Linked DNA regions of Homo sapiens: all the other regions are linked to region 4. Evidence: promoter capture Hi-C in 16 types of primary human blood cells and fetal thymus (Javierre and others, 2016). All regions are on one chromosome and are shown on one strand. Each heading gives the region's core, a stretch centred on a gene start or on the middle of the fragment in contact. The rest is flanking DNA. Distances are from core to core; before and after follow the strand shown. Region 1 overlaps PTGES3 (prostaglandin E synthase 3). Region 2 has its middle 6.3 kb from the start of ATP5F1B. Region 3 overlaps PRIM1 (DNA primase subunit 1). Region 4 holds the start of ZBTB39 (zinc finger and BTB domain containing 39). Region 5 has its middle 3.5 kb from the start of SNORA105C. Region 6 holds the start of NACA (nascent polypeptide associated complex subunit alpha).

Region 1 (2,700 bases), core at 17-2,516, 330 kb before region 4:
AAAAAAACAAATTTCCTGGGCGTGGTGGCACATTCCTACAATCCTAGCTATTTGGAGAGGTGAGGTGGGTGGGAGGATCGCTTAAGCCCAGGTGGAGGCTACAGTGAGCCATGTTCACACCAGTGCACTCTGGCATGAGTGGCATGAGACTACCTAAAAAAAAAGACTAGGCTGGTGTCGTGGCTCATGCCTGTAGTCCCAGCACTTTGGGAGGCTGAGGTGGGGAGACTGCTTGAGCCCAGAAGTTCAAGACCAAGCTGGGCAACACTGTGATACCCCTTTCTACAAAAAATACAAAAATTAGCCAGGTGTTGTGGCATGCCCCTACAGTCCCAGCTACTTGGGGGACTGAGGAGGGAGGATCACTTGGAGCCTGGGAAACTGAGGCTGCAGTGAGCCAAGATCGTGCCACTGCACTCCAGCCTGGGTGACAAAGAGAGACCCTGTTTTGGGGGAAAAAAAACACTGAAAATTGTTAAACATACCTTTTGAAAACAAATTTACTAGTAAGAACTATTTTCAGTTGATTATTTTTTCACCAAGCTTTGTCCCCTCCCATGTGATAGCTGAGTAATTTATGCAAAGTCTGTCTCTTAAGTACAAAAGATTCTACACCAGTTAATAACTGATATTCTGATCACACTTCGTATTAAAACTGAGTAGACAAAAAACATGAACATGAGGCTTTATACTTAGCTGTGAAACAAAAACACAGCCATATTCCTTACATCAAATAAGTACATCTTTTATTACCTAAAATAAAAATATCAAACTTTTCAAAAAAGGAAAATGAAACCTACCTTTGCCCTTTCTTTTGTTAACCTTGGCCATGACTGGCCAGATTCTCCTTTTCGTAAACAACATAAAATTGATCTGTCCGTTCTTTTATGCTTGGAATCCTAAAAACAAAAGGACCATCATACCATTTATCTTTCCAGCATCACTACATGATAGAAAATAGCTTGTCATTTCTCACCTTTCTCATTTCTTTACCTAAATTTTCTCTGGACTCTGAAACATGCCCTTGACTACTAAAAACTTCAAACTATCCAACTGCCCCAACCCCCTTTAAGTTTCATTTAAAAAAAAATTTTTTTTTCCCTTCTATTTCCTACTGAAATAATCTGCACAACAATAAAGTTTAAAGTTTAACCTGGTACCATTTTTTTCTTTCCTGCACACGATAAACAGAATAAAACCTTAAAAACTTTAACTAAAAATGATATAACCACAGAATGGTTTAAAGATTCTATTCTTAGATAAGGGAAGCCTTGGCCGGGCGCAGTGGCTCATGCCTGTAATCCCAGCACTTTGGGAGGCCGAGGCAGGTGGAACACCTGAGGTCAGGAGTTTGAGACCAGCCTGACCAACATGGTCTTTACTAAAAACACAAAAATTAGCCAGGCATGGTGGCATGTGCCTGTAATCCCAGCTGCTCCAGAGGCTGAGGCAGGAGAATCCCTGGAACCTACGAGGCAGAGGTTGCAGTGAGCCGGGATCGCTCCATTGTACTGCAGCAGTCTCAAAGAACAAAACCAAACAAACAAAAAAACAAAACAAATAAAAAAGATGAGACGAGCCTCAAGGATACTACTCTAAGCCCAAACAGTGATAGCAAAAACAAAAAGTATGCAGAAACCAATTTTGGAGGAAATATTCTACAAAATGTAAATATACATAGTTTGCCTCACTGTTAAGAAAAACAGAACTAATGCTCATTGCTAAAAAGAATACTTGGTATGTCTGTTTCCTCACAACTAAAATTTGGATTAAAGCATAAAGACTACTTACATTTGGATCAATACAGTGAAAAAGATCAATTTCATTTAAATGCTTAAAATTATCACTTCCTCCGAGACAACTGTATAAAATAATAAAGAAAGAATTAAGCCTCTTCAAAGAGACAAAGATTAATAATAACTTCAATGAAAAGACAAGCCAGTCAAAGTTATTCAGTTGTGTGAATGACTATTTTACATCATTGGATAAAAAGCTTAACTTACCTGAATGTAAGTTTGGATTTTTCAAAATTTACATTAACATCCTTACTGTCTTCAACACAAAATTCAATGAAGACATAGTCCCTTCGATCGTACCACTTTGCAGAAGCAGGCTGCCTACAAAAGGATAAAGTAGGGAAAGTCAAGCTGGAATTCATTAACTAAACATTCACATACTAACCTTCGACACCATTATAGCATTATTTCAGGGCAGTTTGTTACAATTTTAAACAAAAACTACATTTTTACCCTAACAGCTACATTCCAAGTTAAAACCTATGGGTCTAACAAGATTTAGTTTCAGAATGATTCCAATTTCATAATAGGAAAGATTTAAAAACCAAACAATGCTTAGTAGAGTTAGCCGTTTATCTAGTCCTATCAAAAATTATGTTACTTGGCTGGGTGCAGTGGCTCACACCTGTAATCCCAGCACTTTGGGAGGCCAAGGCAGGTGGGTCACTTGAGGCCAGGAGAGCTAGAGACCAGCCTGGCCAGCACAGCGAAACCCCGACTCTACTACAAATACAAATACGGAAAAAAAAAAAAAAAAAAAAAAAAAAAGCAGGGTACGGTGGCTCACGCCTGTAATCCCAGCACTTTGGGAGGCTGAGGTGGGTGGATCACCTAAGCTCAGGAGTTCGAGACCAGCCTGACCAACATGGTGAAACCCCATCTCTACTAAAATACAAAAATTAGC
Region 2 (2,700 bases), core at 69-2,568, 350 kb before region 4:
GGGAGGCTGAGGCAGGAGAATGGCGTGAACCCTGGAGGCGGAGCTTGCTGTGAGCCAAGATCACGCCACTGCACTCCAGCCTGGGCGACAGAGGGAGACTCCATCTCAAAAAAAAAAAAGTTAAAAGTAAAAAAGAGCTATTTCTCCATGAGACCATTAAGCTGAAGTTTGTGAACTCTTAATTTTTCTCACTCTGTTGCTATCAATGTTGGCCTTTAACAACCTCCTCTCCCTCTCCTCTGAAATCAGTTAAATTTATTAATATAAGTAATAATGTCTAAAATAGAATAAGCTTGATTAGCTCAGATTGAGATATGCCTTAACCAGCATTCTGAATAAATAATGTAATCTATTTTAGAGTTGTAACATGTTTTTGTCCTACATATTTTTTTTTGAGATGGAGTCTTGCTATGTTGCCCGGGCTGGAGTGCAGTGGCACGATCTCAGCTCACTGCAAGCTCCGCCTCCGGGTTCACGCCATTCTCCTGCCTCAGCCTCCCGAGTCGCTGGGACTACAGGCACCCGCCACCACGCCCGGCTAATTTTTTTGTATTTTTTTTAGTAGAGACAGGGTTTCACTGTGTTAGCCAGGATGGTCTCGATCTCCTGACCTCGTGATCCGCCCATGTCGGCCTCCCAAAGTGCTGGGATTACAGGCGTGAGCCACGGCGGCCGGCCTTTCCTACGTATTTCTTGATTGAGACCCAGATTGTCCAAGTGATATTTTATATAAAGTACAAGTCGGGGTGGCTGGCCGGGCGGGGGCTGCCCCCCACCTCCCTCCCGGACGGGGCGGCTGGCTGGGCGGGGGCTGCCCCCCACCTCCCTCCCAGACGGGGCGGCTGCCAGGTGGAGACGCTCCTCATTTCCCAGACGGGGCAGCTGCCGGGCGGAGGGGCTCCTCACTTCTTAGACGGGGCGGCCGGGCAGAGACGCTCCTCACCTCCCAGACGGGGTGGCGGTCAGGCAGAGACACTCCTCAGTTCCCAGACGGGGTCGTGGCCGGGCGGAGGCGCTCCTCACATCCCAGACGGGGCGGCGGGGCAGAGGCGCTCCCCACATCTCAGACGATGGGCGGCCAGGCAGAGACGCTCGTCACTTCCCAGATGGGATGGCGGCCGGGAAGAGGCGCTCCTCACTTCCCAGGCTGGGCGGCAGGGCAGAGGGGCTCCTCGCATCCCAGATGATGGGCGGCCAGGCAGAGACGCTCCTCGCTTCCCAGATGGGGTGGCAGCCGGGCAGAGGCTGCAATCTCGGCACTTTGGGAGGCCAGGGCAGGAGGCTGGGAGGTGGAGGCTGTAGCGAGCCCAGATCATGCCACTGCACTCCAGCAAAGACCAGTCAGGCGTGGCGGCACGCGCCTGCAGTCCCGGGCGATCGGCAGGCTGAGGCAGGAGAGTCGGGCAGGGAGGTTGCAGTGAGCCGAGATGGCGGCAGTGCAGTCCAACCTCGGCTCGGCTTCAGAGGGAGACCATGGAGAGAGGGAAGGGGAGGGGGAGGGGGAGGGGGAGGGGAGGGGGAGGGGAGGGGGAGAGGGAGAGGGAGAGGGACGGAACCTGAAGTTCTAGAGTGATGCAGGAGTTACCCCTGCAAGGATGGTTATGTAAAAATGTCAAAAATAAATGGAACCTGAATGGAAAAAAAAAAAAAAAGTACAAGTTATTTTTCACAGGGGAATAGGAACCACACAGACCCACCCAATCTGGTTTCTTATCTGAAGTTAATTCCAAATGACTGTGCTCTGTAATTTAAAATTCATCTTGAAGTGAAAATTACATTTTCCACCAAATCCTTTCATTACTGCTATCCACATTGGTCATACCCCCACATCCTTCCAGTACTCTGGTAATTGGTGGAATGTGTTTTTTTGGTCTCTACTACATTTCTTGACAATCATCCCGGATTATTTCAAATTCCACGAAAAGAACCCATTCAATGCCCTGGCTTCAGAGATCCTCAACCACTTCAATTCCAATTAGTTTTTCACATTCCCATTTCACATAAGCAGCCTACTTCCACAGCCATTCCCAAGTTGAAATATTCTCTTTCAGAAATCCAATATTCCTTTCTTAGGTCACAATTTGGAAGCACTATTTATTACACAAGTAACATATGAACATATTCTAGGTGTACAGGATGAGTTCTTTCACCATTACTTCCAAAACTTCCACTGTCCTTCCCAAAAATGACCATTGAAAAAACTTTTTGCATACATTCCACTCACTTTCTGTTTCATATACATATAATGCAGGGTTCCCCAGTGCCTGGGCCACAGACCAGTACCCGTCCATGGCCTGTTAGGAACCAGGCCACACAGCAGGAGGAGAGTTGTGGTCGAGTGACCAAAGCTTCATCTGTATTTACAGCTTCTCCCCACTGCTCACGTTACCACCTGAATTCTGCCTCCTGTCAGATCAGTGATGGCATTAGATTCTCATAAAAATGGAAACCCTATTGTTGCGGGAAGTCAGGGACCCCAAACGGAGGGACCGGCTGAAGCCACAGCAGAACATAAATTGTGAAGATTTCATGGACATTTATTAGTTCCCCAAATTAATACTTTTATAATTTCTTACGCCTGTTTTTACTGCAATCTCTGAACAGAAATTGTGAAGATTTCATGTACATTTATCACTTCCCCAATCAATACTCTTATAATTTCCTATGCCTGTCTTTAATCTCTTAATCCCGTCATCTTCA
Region 3 (2,726 bases), core at 1-2,500, 260 kb before region 4:
CAGCAGTGAAAATTGATAGCAAGGTAACTCTAAAGGCACATGCCGGTAAATCAGACACCTTAAAGTGCTTGGAGACTTTTCCAACAGACCTGATAAAAGGGTGAATTTTTTCACTTAGGTGAACTTTCTTTTTAACGTCTTGACCACCCTGAAAAATAAATCATTAAAAAAGAACTTCAGGTATACAATATAAATACAGTCATGTGCAGCATAACGACATTTTAGTCATGATGGACTGCATATAAGATGGTGGGCACGGTGGCTCACACCTGTAATCCCAGCATTTTGGGAGGCTGAGGTGGGTGGATCACCTGAGGTCAAGAGTTCAAGACCAGCCTGAATCCCATCTCTATTAAAAATACAAAAAATTAGCTGGGCATGGTGGCGCATGCCTGTAATCCTAGCTACTCGGGAGGCTGAGGCAGGAGAGTCGCTTGAACTCGGGAGGCAGAGGTTGCAGTGAGCCGAGATCGCATCATTGCACTCTAGCCAGGGTGACAAGAGCGAGACTCCATCTCAAAAAAAAAAGAAAAAGATGGTGGGTCCCATAAGATTGCAATACTGTATTTTTACTGTGACTTTTCTATGTTTAGGTATGTTTAGCTACATCAGTACCTATCATTGTGTTACAATTGCCTACAGTATTGAGTACAGTAACATGCTGTACAGGTTGTAGCCTAGGAGCAATAGGTTATACCATATAGCCTAGATGTATAGTAGGCTATACCATCTGGGTCTGTGTAAGTATACTCCATGACTTTTGCAAAGTGATGTATTTCTCAGGATGTATCCTTATTGTTAAGTGATGCATAATTATAATTAAAACATTTCTAGGGCTGGACGCAGTGGCTCACACTTGTAATCCCAGCACTTTGAGAGGCTGAGGCGGGCGGATCACCTGAGGTCAGGAGTTCGAGACCAGCCTGACCAATATGATGAAACCCTGTTTCCACCTGCCAACACGCCTGGCTAAATACAAAAATTAGCCGGGTGTGGTGGCAAGTGCCTGTAATCCCAGCTACTTGGGAGGCTGAGACAGGAGAATTGCTTGAACCCGGGACGCGGAGGTTGTGGTGAGCCAAGATAGCGCCACTGCACTCCAGCCTGGGTAACAGAGCAAGACTCCGTCTCAAAAAAAAAAAAAAAAATTTGTAGGCTGGATGTAGTGGCTCACACCTGTAATCTCAGCATTTTGGGAGCCTGAAGTGGGAGGATAGTTTGAGTTTAGGAGTTCAAGAACACCCTGGGCAATATAGTGAGACCTTGTTTCTGCAAAAATTAAAAAATTGGCTGGGCGTGGTGGCGCATGCCTTTAGTCCCAGCTACTCAGGAGGCTGAGGTAGAAGGGTCACTTGAGACCAGGAGGTCAAGGCTGCAGTGAGCTGTGGTCACGTTACCGTACTCCAGCCTGGGTGACAGGGTGAGACCGTGTCTCAAAACAAAACAAAACAAAACAAAAAAAACCAAAAAAACAAACCAAAACCAAAACCAAACTTTAACATGTTCTATTATTTTATATATAATAAATCTATTTTATCTATTATTTTACATATGCCACAAAGCAAGATATTTATAGCAAAATAAAATGAAATATCTTAAAACATGTAGCTACTATGACTTTAAATGATCTATTGGTAAGATCATTTACTCTGCAATGTGAATGCCATTAAAGATAAGTTTTAGGCCAGTGTGGTGGCTCATGTCTGTAATCCCAGCACTTTGGGAGGCTGAGGTGGGTGAATCACCTGAGGCTAGGAGTTCTAGGCCAGCCTGGCCAACATGGCGAAACCCAGTCTTTACTAAAAATACAAAATTTAGCTGGGCACAGTGGCAGGAGCCTGTAGTCCCAGCTACTCGGGAGGCTGAGGCAGGAGAATTGCTTGGACCCAGGAAGCAGAGCTTGCAGTGAGCCAAGATCATGCCATTGCAGTCCAGCCTGGGCAACAGAGTGAGAGTCCATCTCAAAAAAAAAAAAAAAAGATAGTTTCATTTTCTTTGACAGTAAACATATCAGGCTTGGTAACATCTAGAAACTAAAGCAATGCAAATTAGAATTAAGAGGATCTTACCTTTACAAGGCTCAAATACTCAACTATCCCAGAACGTACTGCAGAAGACAGTTTTCTAACTGATTCATCACAGACCCAACAATGAACACCTCTCCTTCCAGAATATACCCAGAGACGATGCTTAAATCCAAAGTCCTCTGAGGAAGAGAGAAATAATAGGTTTTAAAACAAATCTATAAACTCCTTAATTAATGTATATTAAATTACTTGTTGTTTCCTGTGCTCCCCATGTTCTTGCTTCATCTCTTTACCCATCCTGGTCTCTCTGCTGGGAATTTCTTTCTTTTTTAAAAAACTATTTTATTAGGCCAGGTGTGGTAGCTCACGCCTGTAATCCCAGCACTCTGGGAGGCCGAGGTGGGCAGATCACGAGGTCAGGAGTTCGAGACCAGCCTGACCAACATGGTGAAACGCTGCCTCTACTAAAAATACAAAAATTAACTGGGCGTGGTGGCGTGCGCCTGTAGTCCCAGCTACTCAGGAGGCTGAGGCAGGAGAATCACTTGAACCCAGGAGGCAGAGGTTGCAGTGAGCCGACATTGTACCACTGCACTCCAGCCTGGCTGACAGAGTGAGACTCGTCACACACACACACACACACACACACACACACACACACACACACACACACAAATTAATGAGATTTGATCACAAAAT
Region 4 (2,700 bases), core at 90-2,589:
AGAGACGAACCAGAGGCATTCCCTTGGACACAATCTTATACTTCATTACCAGAGCCACTGGATCAAATTTTTCTCCTATTAATTTCCTCCCAAATACAAGCTTTCCTAATTCATTGAGCATATTCTTTTCCCTCATGATGCCAAATACCATGCACATGCTTGAACACAACTATCAAAGCTCCACTAGCTACTGAGGAACATATAAGGTGGTTCCGTTTTTTAGCTTTGTCATTGCTGTGTCTTCAACCTCTCAATAATCTCCAAATAAATCTCACGTTCTTGAATCCCCATCTCTCTCTGCCTATACTACATACCCGCTCTCTGGCCTTTCGATAACCCAGAGCCCCTCCAGATATTGCTTTATCACAGTCCCTGTATTCTGTGAAGTTAAAACACTCAGAATGCACAGTAAGAAAAGTAGAACACAACTGTGGTAGTATTTAATATTACTTTAATATGTTGTATTCTTTTTCGCCACCCTTTTCGGGGTTTATATTTTGTTGTCCCTGCACTAACAGATTTACTTGATGCCGCAAGAAAGACTTCTAATTATACAGGTAAGACTCCTAGAGGCTTGTTCACTACCACTTTCTGCCCTTTCTGACTCCTGCACGACTAAGGAAGAAGAGCTACTTGCATCCCTGTTCAGTCTCACAACTCTGCCCAACACAGCCCCTTTCTCCATCTCTCCAGATTCTAACAACTCCCAACTTTTTCTGGGGCCCAGGAAGCGTCTAAGTATTGTGGGGTACCGGCCAAGCATCTCCCGGGCCCTGGTGGCCACCCCTGAACGATGGGCGGGTCGGAGCACTGGGCAGCCAGAGGAGAGGGTGGGAGAGGGGGAAGCTGGGAACTTCCAAGGACACCCCAACAATCCCCGGGCGCCGCGGTCTCCCCTCCGGAGTCGCATCTGGGAGGGAAGGGCGCTGCATCGGCTGGGGCGCTCCCTCTGGAGGCAACGAGCGCCTCAGTCCCTCCACAAACAGCGCGGGGCTCACCCGGGTGAGCCTGTTGGGGGCATGGGGCTGAATAAGGGGCCAAGCGAGGGGCGGCGGGGCCGGCCGGGGTCGGCGCGCGGGCGGGGAGGATGGGTCCGGCCGAAGGGAGCGGGCAAGAGGGACCCCAGCAAGAGCGAGATAAATGCCGGGCCGAAGGTCGGGCTTCGGCCAGGGGCAGCCCTCGGCCTGGCCGCGCTTACCCGGCTCTGCGGCGCCCCGAGCACCATCGCCGCCGCCGCTTCACACAAAGGCCCCGGCCCGCCGTGCCCGGCCCGACGAGGAGGCGGCGCCGCCGGCCGCGGCCAGACTCTCCATCCGCCGCGCGGCTCGCCGCGACGGCCCGGGCCGCCCCCGCCGCCCGGCCCGCAGCGCCCCCCGCCGTCCCGGAGGAGGCAGCGCCCCCCGCCGCCCGGCCGCAGCGCCCCCCGCCGCCCGGGAGGAGGCAGCGCCCCCCCACGGCGGGGCCGGGTCCAGGACCTGCGCGAGGGGTGCAGGGGCTTCCAAGTCCCCAGGCTGGCTTTTTCTAAGCGCCCATCCACTGTGCGCGGGACTTGGTGCCTGAAGAGTGAAAAACCCTATCCAAACTCTCTTCACCTCCCCTGTTCTACGCTCACAGTTCCAAAAGCTTCTCCTCAGAACATCTACTATGGGCATTTTACAAAATGTTGTAAGATTGTTTGATTACTATATATCTCCTCCACTAGGCTGTGGGCTTCCTGAAGGCAGGGATCTGTGGCTTTGCACACGGCCGCAGGTCCACACTGACCCTTACCACACTTCCTGGCACAATAAGTGCTTAATACATTAAGCCTGCTTGAATGAATGAAGGAGCACTTGAGGGCTAGACCGCTACTACTGGACCCTTCTGATAATCCACTGCTGTCCCTCCTTCCATCTAGGTGGCCAAATGAAGAAAGTCACCGGATCTCACTGTACTTTGGCACCCCAGGCCTGCTTCCTGAAGCCTGCCCTCCCCAACTCTGTGTAGAACTCGATCACTCTTCCTCCCCACCCTTCTCCCAAATCATCTTTTCAAATGCTTCTGCCCAAGAATTGTCATCAAACGAAAACCACCTACACTGCCTGCCCCACCCACCACCACCAAAGACATTAGAAGTCTTCGTCATGTCGCCCTCCCTCCCTCAGTACAGAGGAAGCTCTTAGGCTCCAAGACCCTTCAGTTTCATCCTCTCTCCCATCCCATCCCAGTCACTGCCTGAAAATAGCTTGCAGCCAAGGACAAACTCCCAGGACAGGCGCATGGTAGGATTCAGTAATTCCTTGATGGATAAGTGGAAAGGAAGGGACACACTGAATGTTGCCAACAGATCTAAGCCAGTTTGGCCATTCAGCAATTGTCCATTCTCTTGATGAATTTGGGAGATTGTGTGTCCTCCTTTCCACAACCTCATTAACTGGTGGCAGACTATACTGAAAGCAAGCACTATACCAAATGCTGCCAAACATGTAACATTTGTTAGCCAGGAGATACAAAAACAGCCATAGAACTGTTCTTATAGTTTGGGGATGAGGCATCTCACTTTACCATCTAGTGAAAGGGTCACTTAGAGGTTGACACAATGTTTCAGTGGCAGGCCCAGCTCTCACAGTTGTGCAAGGTGACTGAGTCTCCCTAAAGTGGAATATCACACAGCCAGCAGGTCCAGACCTCCAGCATGACTCTGGAGACAGAGGGCTGCTG
Region 5 (2,700 bases), core at 127-2,626, 490 kb before region 4:
TCTGGGTTCCCACTATTCTCCTGCCTCAGCCTCCCGAGTAGCTGGGACTACAGGTGCCCACCACCACGCCCGGCTCATTTTTTTTGTATTTTTAGTAGAGACGGGGTTTCACCGTGTTAGCCAGGATGGTCTCGATATCCTGACCTCATGATCCACCCACCTCAGCCTCCCAAAGTGCTGGGATTACAGGTGTGAGCCACTGCGCCCAGTCTTACCATTTTTAATTAGTAACATTTTTTTCAAATGTAAATTTTGTGTTCTGAGACAGTCCATTTATTCATTTAACAAATATTTTAACATTTTAAATTAGCCAGGTCCTCCTGAATGCTAAGGATATAATGGTGTACAAAACAGTCATGGTCTCTGTCCTCATCAAGCTTATGCTTCTGGTAAAGGCTGCTCATGACTAGTGACCTTATAACTAATGTATATTTATATTTTAACAATTACTTTTTCAGCACCATATGAACAGGAAAAATAGAAAAACAATTATTTCTTACATTCAAATCTCTCTCTCTCTCTCTCTTTTTTTTGAGACAGAGTCTCCCTCTGTTGCCCAGGCTAGAGTGCAGTAGCGCAATCTCGGCTCACTGCAACCTCTGCCTCTGGGTTCAAGTGATTCTCCTGCAGCAGACTCCCGAGTAGCTGGGACTACAGGGCCACACCACCACGCCTGGCTAATTTTTTGTATTTTTAGTAGAGATAGGGTTTCACCATGTTGGCCAGGCTGGTCTTGAACTTCTGACCTCAAGTGATCTGCCTGCCTCTGCCTCCCAAAGTGCTGGGATTACAGGTGTGAGCCACTGTGCCCAGCCCTTACATTTAAATCTTATGTTTCACCTGAGAGTTTTAGGATATGGTCCTAATTATCTGGAAATCAGATTTTAAGCAAATTATCTTCTAAATATATAGTGAATCAAAACTCAGGTAGAATCTTCATTAGGAGTGCTTCTCAGCAAATGTGGTTTTCAACAAACCTCTTGCTGTTTGTGTTGTAAGTTTATCCCTAGAAATATTACCCAGTGTGTAAGTTAAGAATAAGTCAGAATATTGAATATGACTACTACTTGAGGTAAGGGGCTGGCTTGAGGAAAATAGTTGAATCTTTCACTTCTGGATTCCTAGGATTATTCCTTTATTATTTCTGACCCCAAAGTACATATTTACTGGAATTTTTAATTTTACGGGCAAATAGAAAGGATAGAATTGAGTCAAGAAATCTGAATTCTGGCCAGGAGCAGTGGCTCACAGCTATAATCCCAACACTTTGGGAGGCCGAGGAGGGCAGATCACCTGAGGTTAGGAGTTTGAGACCAGCCTGGCCAACATGGTGAAACCCCGTCTCTACTAAAAACACAAAAATTAGCCAGGCATGGTGACATGTGCCTGTAATCCCAGCTGCTCCAGAGGCTGAGGCAGGGGAATTGCTTGAACCCGGGAGGCGGAGGTTGCAGTGAGCTGAGATCACACCATTGCACTCCAGCCTGGGCAACAGAGTGAGACTCCATCTCAAAAAAAGAAAAAAAAAAAAACAAAAGAAGAAGAAGAAATCTGGATTCTGGTGTCACTTATGCTACTATTTGACCCCTATGACCTTGTGTAAGTGAGCTTGCCTCTCTGGGATTTGTTTTTTTAATCTGAAAATGAGAGAGGACAAGGGGAAGGAACTATCCAATTAATTACTGTTTTGGCTCATTATCATCCCCGCAGTCTCATACTTCTTGCAATATTTAGATTTAACCATATGAAATTGCTAGTATTCAATGATATGAAAAGATTAAGATTTGACCTATGGAGACAGCAGTTTCATTTGATTCAGCCTAATTGTTGAATCAGTTGTGGGCCCTATTGGGATCATCTGAGTTGTTTATTTTAGGGATAGATGAGGCCAAGGCCAAGCAAAACTAATGCCTCAGGTGTGAAGGAAACACACATTTAGAGAATATATCTTTCTGGTAGGTGATAAAATAAAAATAAAAAGAGAATACAATGAATACCACCATAAAATCAATGTAGTATATTCTGGGTTACATAGAATTCATTCTAGTCTTTTCTTTCTACAATATGCTAATTTTCTAGCCCAGTGATTCTAAATGATTTGGTTCCTGTATTCCTTCAGCGTCCGGCAAAGGAAAAGTCCATTTGACAATTTTATTAGAATATTCTCTGAAGCAATGTTTGTCCAGGAATATCTGTTGCTATAGGAGAAGAGGCCTGTTAGCACTGATATCCAGGTGTGAAAGAAATAATTCTTCAGAGCTGTCTTTTTCCTTGTTTGCCAGTAAGGTAAGTCAAAGAGGTAAAAAGACAAACTTTTCCAATTTTTTGTTTTAGACCAATTTTGTCATTCCATCCTACATCAGAAGGGGTCACGGCTAAGCTTTGCTTTATTGTTTGATGTAGCTCATTAACATTTCTTGCCTAAGGAAACTGGTATGTTCAATAAACTGTTTTTGTTTGTTTGTTTGTTTTGTTTTGTTTTTTACTTTTCCCTAAGACATAATCTCATCTTTTTTACCAGGAAATAAACTCAGCTTTTTTTTTTTTTGAGACAGAGTCTCACTCTGTTGCCCAGGCTGGAGTGCAGTGGCATGATCTCAGCTCACTGCAACCTCTGCCTCCCAGGTTCAAGCGATTCTCCTGCCTCAGTCTCCCAAGTAGCTGGGATTACAGGCGTGTGCCACCACGCCTGGCTAATTT
Region 6 (2,700 bases), core at 126-2,625, 280 kb before region 4:
CTGCACAACTGACTCAGAAAGGCTATCATTTTAAGAACTTTTCATTACCTCCTCCTAAGTTTTCTACAGAGATATGTTTTAACCAGAATTTAAAATTAGCCTTCACAGTCGTTAATTTCGACGCTGAGGATAAAAGGATTTATTTCAATCCTGGGTTTCACACAATGATGCAGGAACTATTCCAGCACACTAGAAGTATCTCAGCACCACCAACCCATAAACAAGTTATCCGACCTAGGACGACTCTGGGGCCCAGTAGGACACATTTACCACCAGCACACATCTCATCCAGACATGTGATAAAGGCACAATGCCAAGCTCTGCTAACTAAAACCTTGATGCAACTTGCTGGCTGGAGTTTCACAAATGCTCCGGGCTCCTTGGCCTGTGTCATCTAGTTCCAATAGGTAAGAATCACTGAGCCCATTCCCTGCTGAGTTTTCCTATGTGAGGTGGGGGTTCCACAGGAGAGCTTCTTTTGAGGCGACAGGCATAACATAGAAAGCAAGCTAGGGTACTTTTAACGTCCACGAATCTTAAAAATATTATTTTTACTCCAAATCCCTAAAGAAGTATCTCCAGGATAGTAATTTTACGGTCTATCCTCCTTGGTAAAGCTGCAACCCCATCCTCCTAAAAAGTGTATTTCCCCTTGGTCATTTTGCCCACCAAATGGCTTTAGGGTTAATTTTAATTAATGGCAAGGAGGGTAGGGAAACCTACCTGTCTCAGCCTGGGGCTGCGGCAACTCCTGCTCTGTAGCAGGGACGGTTTCTGTGGCTTCGCCGGGCATTTCTGAAGGAAGGGAATAAAAAGGAGGCCTAAATTGATTGGGATACATTCACTTGCCCAACCCGGAGATAAGTATTCTTAAAAACTCCGAGGAGGGCTGTTAGAAAAAAATCGTGAGGGTGTTTGGTGACAACCTTCCCCAAAGCACCTGGGAATAAGAGGTAAATATGATGTGACCCTCACGCCTCTATCAAGGCCAGCAATTCCCACTGCATTCTCAACCCGAGGGAGAGGATCCCGGGCTGGCTCTCGATCATGGGAGACTTCAGACGCTACTGTGAACCCCCTCCACTCCTAATACTCACACTGGCTGGGCTGGGGCCTCCTGGACTACGTTTGCCGACTTTGGGGTACCAGGAGGGGAAAGACGGTGTTTTAAGTCCAACACTTGCTTGTCACAGGGAGAACGGTGTTACAGGTTCTAAGGCTGTGACCCCTTACCCTTTTCTGGATCCTGTGAAGCAGTTCCCAAAACAAGACGCACTCCTCTTCCGCCCTCAACACTGCAACTGCTCCCATCTCTGCAGGCTCGGATTCTGGGCCCGCCCCGCAGCCCTTCTACCCTGCTTTTGCCAGGACACCAACCGCAGACCCCATTTTGTCCGGAGGCCCAGGGGCGAGTAGGAACCCTGTGGCCCAGTAAAGCCTCCAACTCTCCTTAACTCTCAGTCCCCGGGGCGGCTTAGCCCGAAAGAAAGGCGGATGGCTGCGGATAGACAGTAGCGGCACAGAAAGTACTTACTGTGCAGGGAACGCGGAACCAAGATGGCGGCAGAAAGACCGAGCGAGAGCGTGACCCACGCCTGTTGCAGAAGGAAGCCTGGAGCGGAGGGGGTGGGACTAGGATCCGATTCCGGGTCAAGAGCTGCCGGCAGCCACTTCCTTTGACGAGTGACTGTCAGGCCGTTCCCACGGCGGGGGTGGTGACAAGGACTAAAGGGTAAGAATTTAGAACGGGACGCGCAGGCCTAGCAGGAGCTCTCTGCGCGGACCCACGCAGTCCTCAGAACTAAGCAGACTCCGCCCTCCGGTCCGCGAAGTGGCGACTGCGGTATTAAGTCGACCTCGCGATTTCTCAAATAGTGCAGGAAGAAGACATTAAATAGCGAATGCTAGAGACTGCATTCACAACATTGGAGGGTGGAAGTGACTTAGGCTAACCAGTTATTTTTGGAACACACGATGTGAAAACATTTAAAAGCTGCTGGACCCTCTCCCCCCCCATCAACAACAACAAAAAAACCCATTTTAAAACTTGAGAGATGTGATGGGTCACATATAACTTCAGTTCAGATTATAAATTTAATTCGATTTTTCTTGTTCTGTTCAATGACTAGAGAGACTCAAACGATGTCACCAGATGACAGCAACTCATGCGTGTTAAACTCTTCGTAAAACAATGTTAGCTGTACCCCCGCCCCCCCCCCAAAAAAAACACTTCTTGTAACCAAATTCTGTAATTATGTTCCAACCTTGTATGGATAACGTAATCCAGCTAAAAACTCCTCTGTCTCCCTAAATAAATGAAATCGTAACTTCTCTACTTCTGAAGGCTGACTCCATTCTTTGGAGGTTTTCTGGTTGGTCCATCCTCACACTGCCCTTGAATAAACTCTTTAAATAGATTCCGGCCCTTTTGATTGTTTTAGGTTCACGACAATTTAGCCGATGTTGAAATTATAAAGCTGCAGATTCTCCTTCCCAGAAAAAAAGAACATAGGCACATATACAATTCCTTTGCTTGCTATTTTGGGCACTTCTTGGATTTTTTTTTTTTTTTTTTTGAGTCGCTCTGTCGGCCAGGCTAGAGTGCAGTGGCACGATCTCGGCTCACTGCAATCTCCGCCTCCAGGGCTCAAGCAGTTGTCCCGCCTCAGCCTCCCGAGTAGCTGGGATTACAGGTGTGTG

Evidence for each region. Contacts are between HindIII fragments. The CHiCAGO score rates a contact against its expected background, and 5 or more counts as called.
Region 1: a contact is called between a fragment that was not itself captured here and the fragment with the promoter of ZBTB39 in region 4, in 4 of 17 cell types (M2 macrophages, endothelial precursors, M0 macrophages and 1 more). The highest score is 8.5, in M2 macrophages.
Region 2: a fragment that was not itself captured here is called in contact with the fragment with the promoter of ZBTB39 in region 4 in 3 of 17 cell types (M2 macrophages, erythroblasts and M0 macrophages); the score reaches 7.5 in M2 macrophages.
Region 3: a contact is called between a fragment that was not itself captured here and the fragment with the promoter of ZBTB39 in region 4, in 6 of 17 cell types (M2 macrophages, erythroblasts, M1 macrophages and 3 more). The highest score is 10.8, in M2 macrophages.
Region 5: a fragment that was not itself captured here is called in contact with the fragment with the promoter of ZBTB39 in region 4 in 4 of 17 cell types (naive B cells, total B cells, fetal thymus and 1 more); the score reaches 6.9 in naive B cells.
Region 6: a fragment that was not itself captured here is called in contact with the fragment with the promoter of ZBTB39 in region 4 in 14 of 17 cell types (erythroblasts, M1 macrophages, M0 macrophages and 11 more); the score reaches 11.8 in erythroblasts.

The regions. Positions count from the first base shown.
Region 1 is chr12:56,670,949-56,673,648 of GRCh38, forward strand. PTGES3 (prostaglandin E synthase 3) reads right to left here. Exons shown (of 8, transcript NM_006601.7): 2 at 2,004-2,117; 3 at 1,792-1,861; 4 at 801-899. Among named protein-coding and RNA genes, the nearest start is that of PTGES3, 16 kb to the right of the region's middle. The HindIII fragment of the contact is 1,450 bases long and covers 542-1,991 here.
Region 2 is chr12:56,650,951-56,653,650 of GRCh38, forward strand. No RefSeq gene overlaps it. Among named protein-coding and RNA genes, the nearest start is that of ATP5F1B, 6.3 kb to the left of the region's middle. The HindIII fragment of the contact is 2,056 bases long and covers 291-2,346 here.
Region 3 is chr12:56,743,976-56,746,701 of GRCh38, forward strand. PRIM1 (DNA primase subunit 1) reads right to left here. Exons shown (of 13, transcript NM_000946.3): 5 at 2,070-2,206; 6 at 90-148. Among named protein-coding and RNA genes, the nearest start is that of PRIM1, 7.0 kb to the right of the region's middle. The HindIII fragment of the contact is 6,831 bases long and covers 1-2,726 here.
Region 4 is chr12:57,005,207-57,007,906 of GRCh38, forward strand. It overlaps ZBTB39 (zinc finger and BTB domain containing 39), which reads right to left and starts at 1,340. Exons shown (of 2, transcript NM_014830.3): 1 at 1,199-1,340. RefSeq lists silencers at 1,009-1,158, 1,179-1,538. The HindIII fragment of the contact is 1,523 bases long and covers 99-1,621 here.
Region 5 is chr12:56,515,053-56,517,752 of GRCh38, forward strand. No RefSeq gene overlaps it. Among named protein-coding and RNA genes, the nearest start is that of SNORA105C, 3.5 kb to the left of the region's middle. The HindIII fragment of the contact is 2,003 bases long and covers 376-2,378 here.
Region 6 is chr12:56,723,729-56,726,428 of GRCh38, forward strand. It overlaps NACA (nascent polypeptide associated complex subunit alpha), which reads right to left and starts at 1,571. Exons shown (of 9, transcript NM_001365896.1): 1 at 1,535-1,571; 2 at 724-795. The coding sequence starts at 793. RefSeq lists enhancers at 198-317, 1,377-1,426, 1,517-1,646. The HindIII fragment of the contact is 3,564 bases long and covers 1-2,700 here.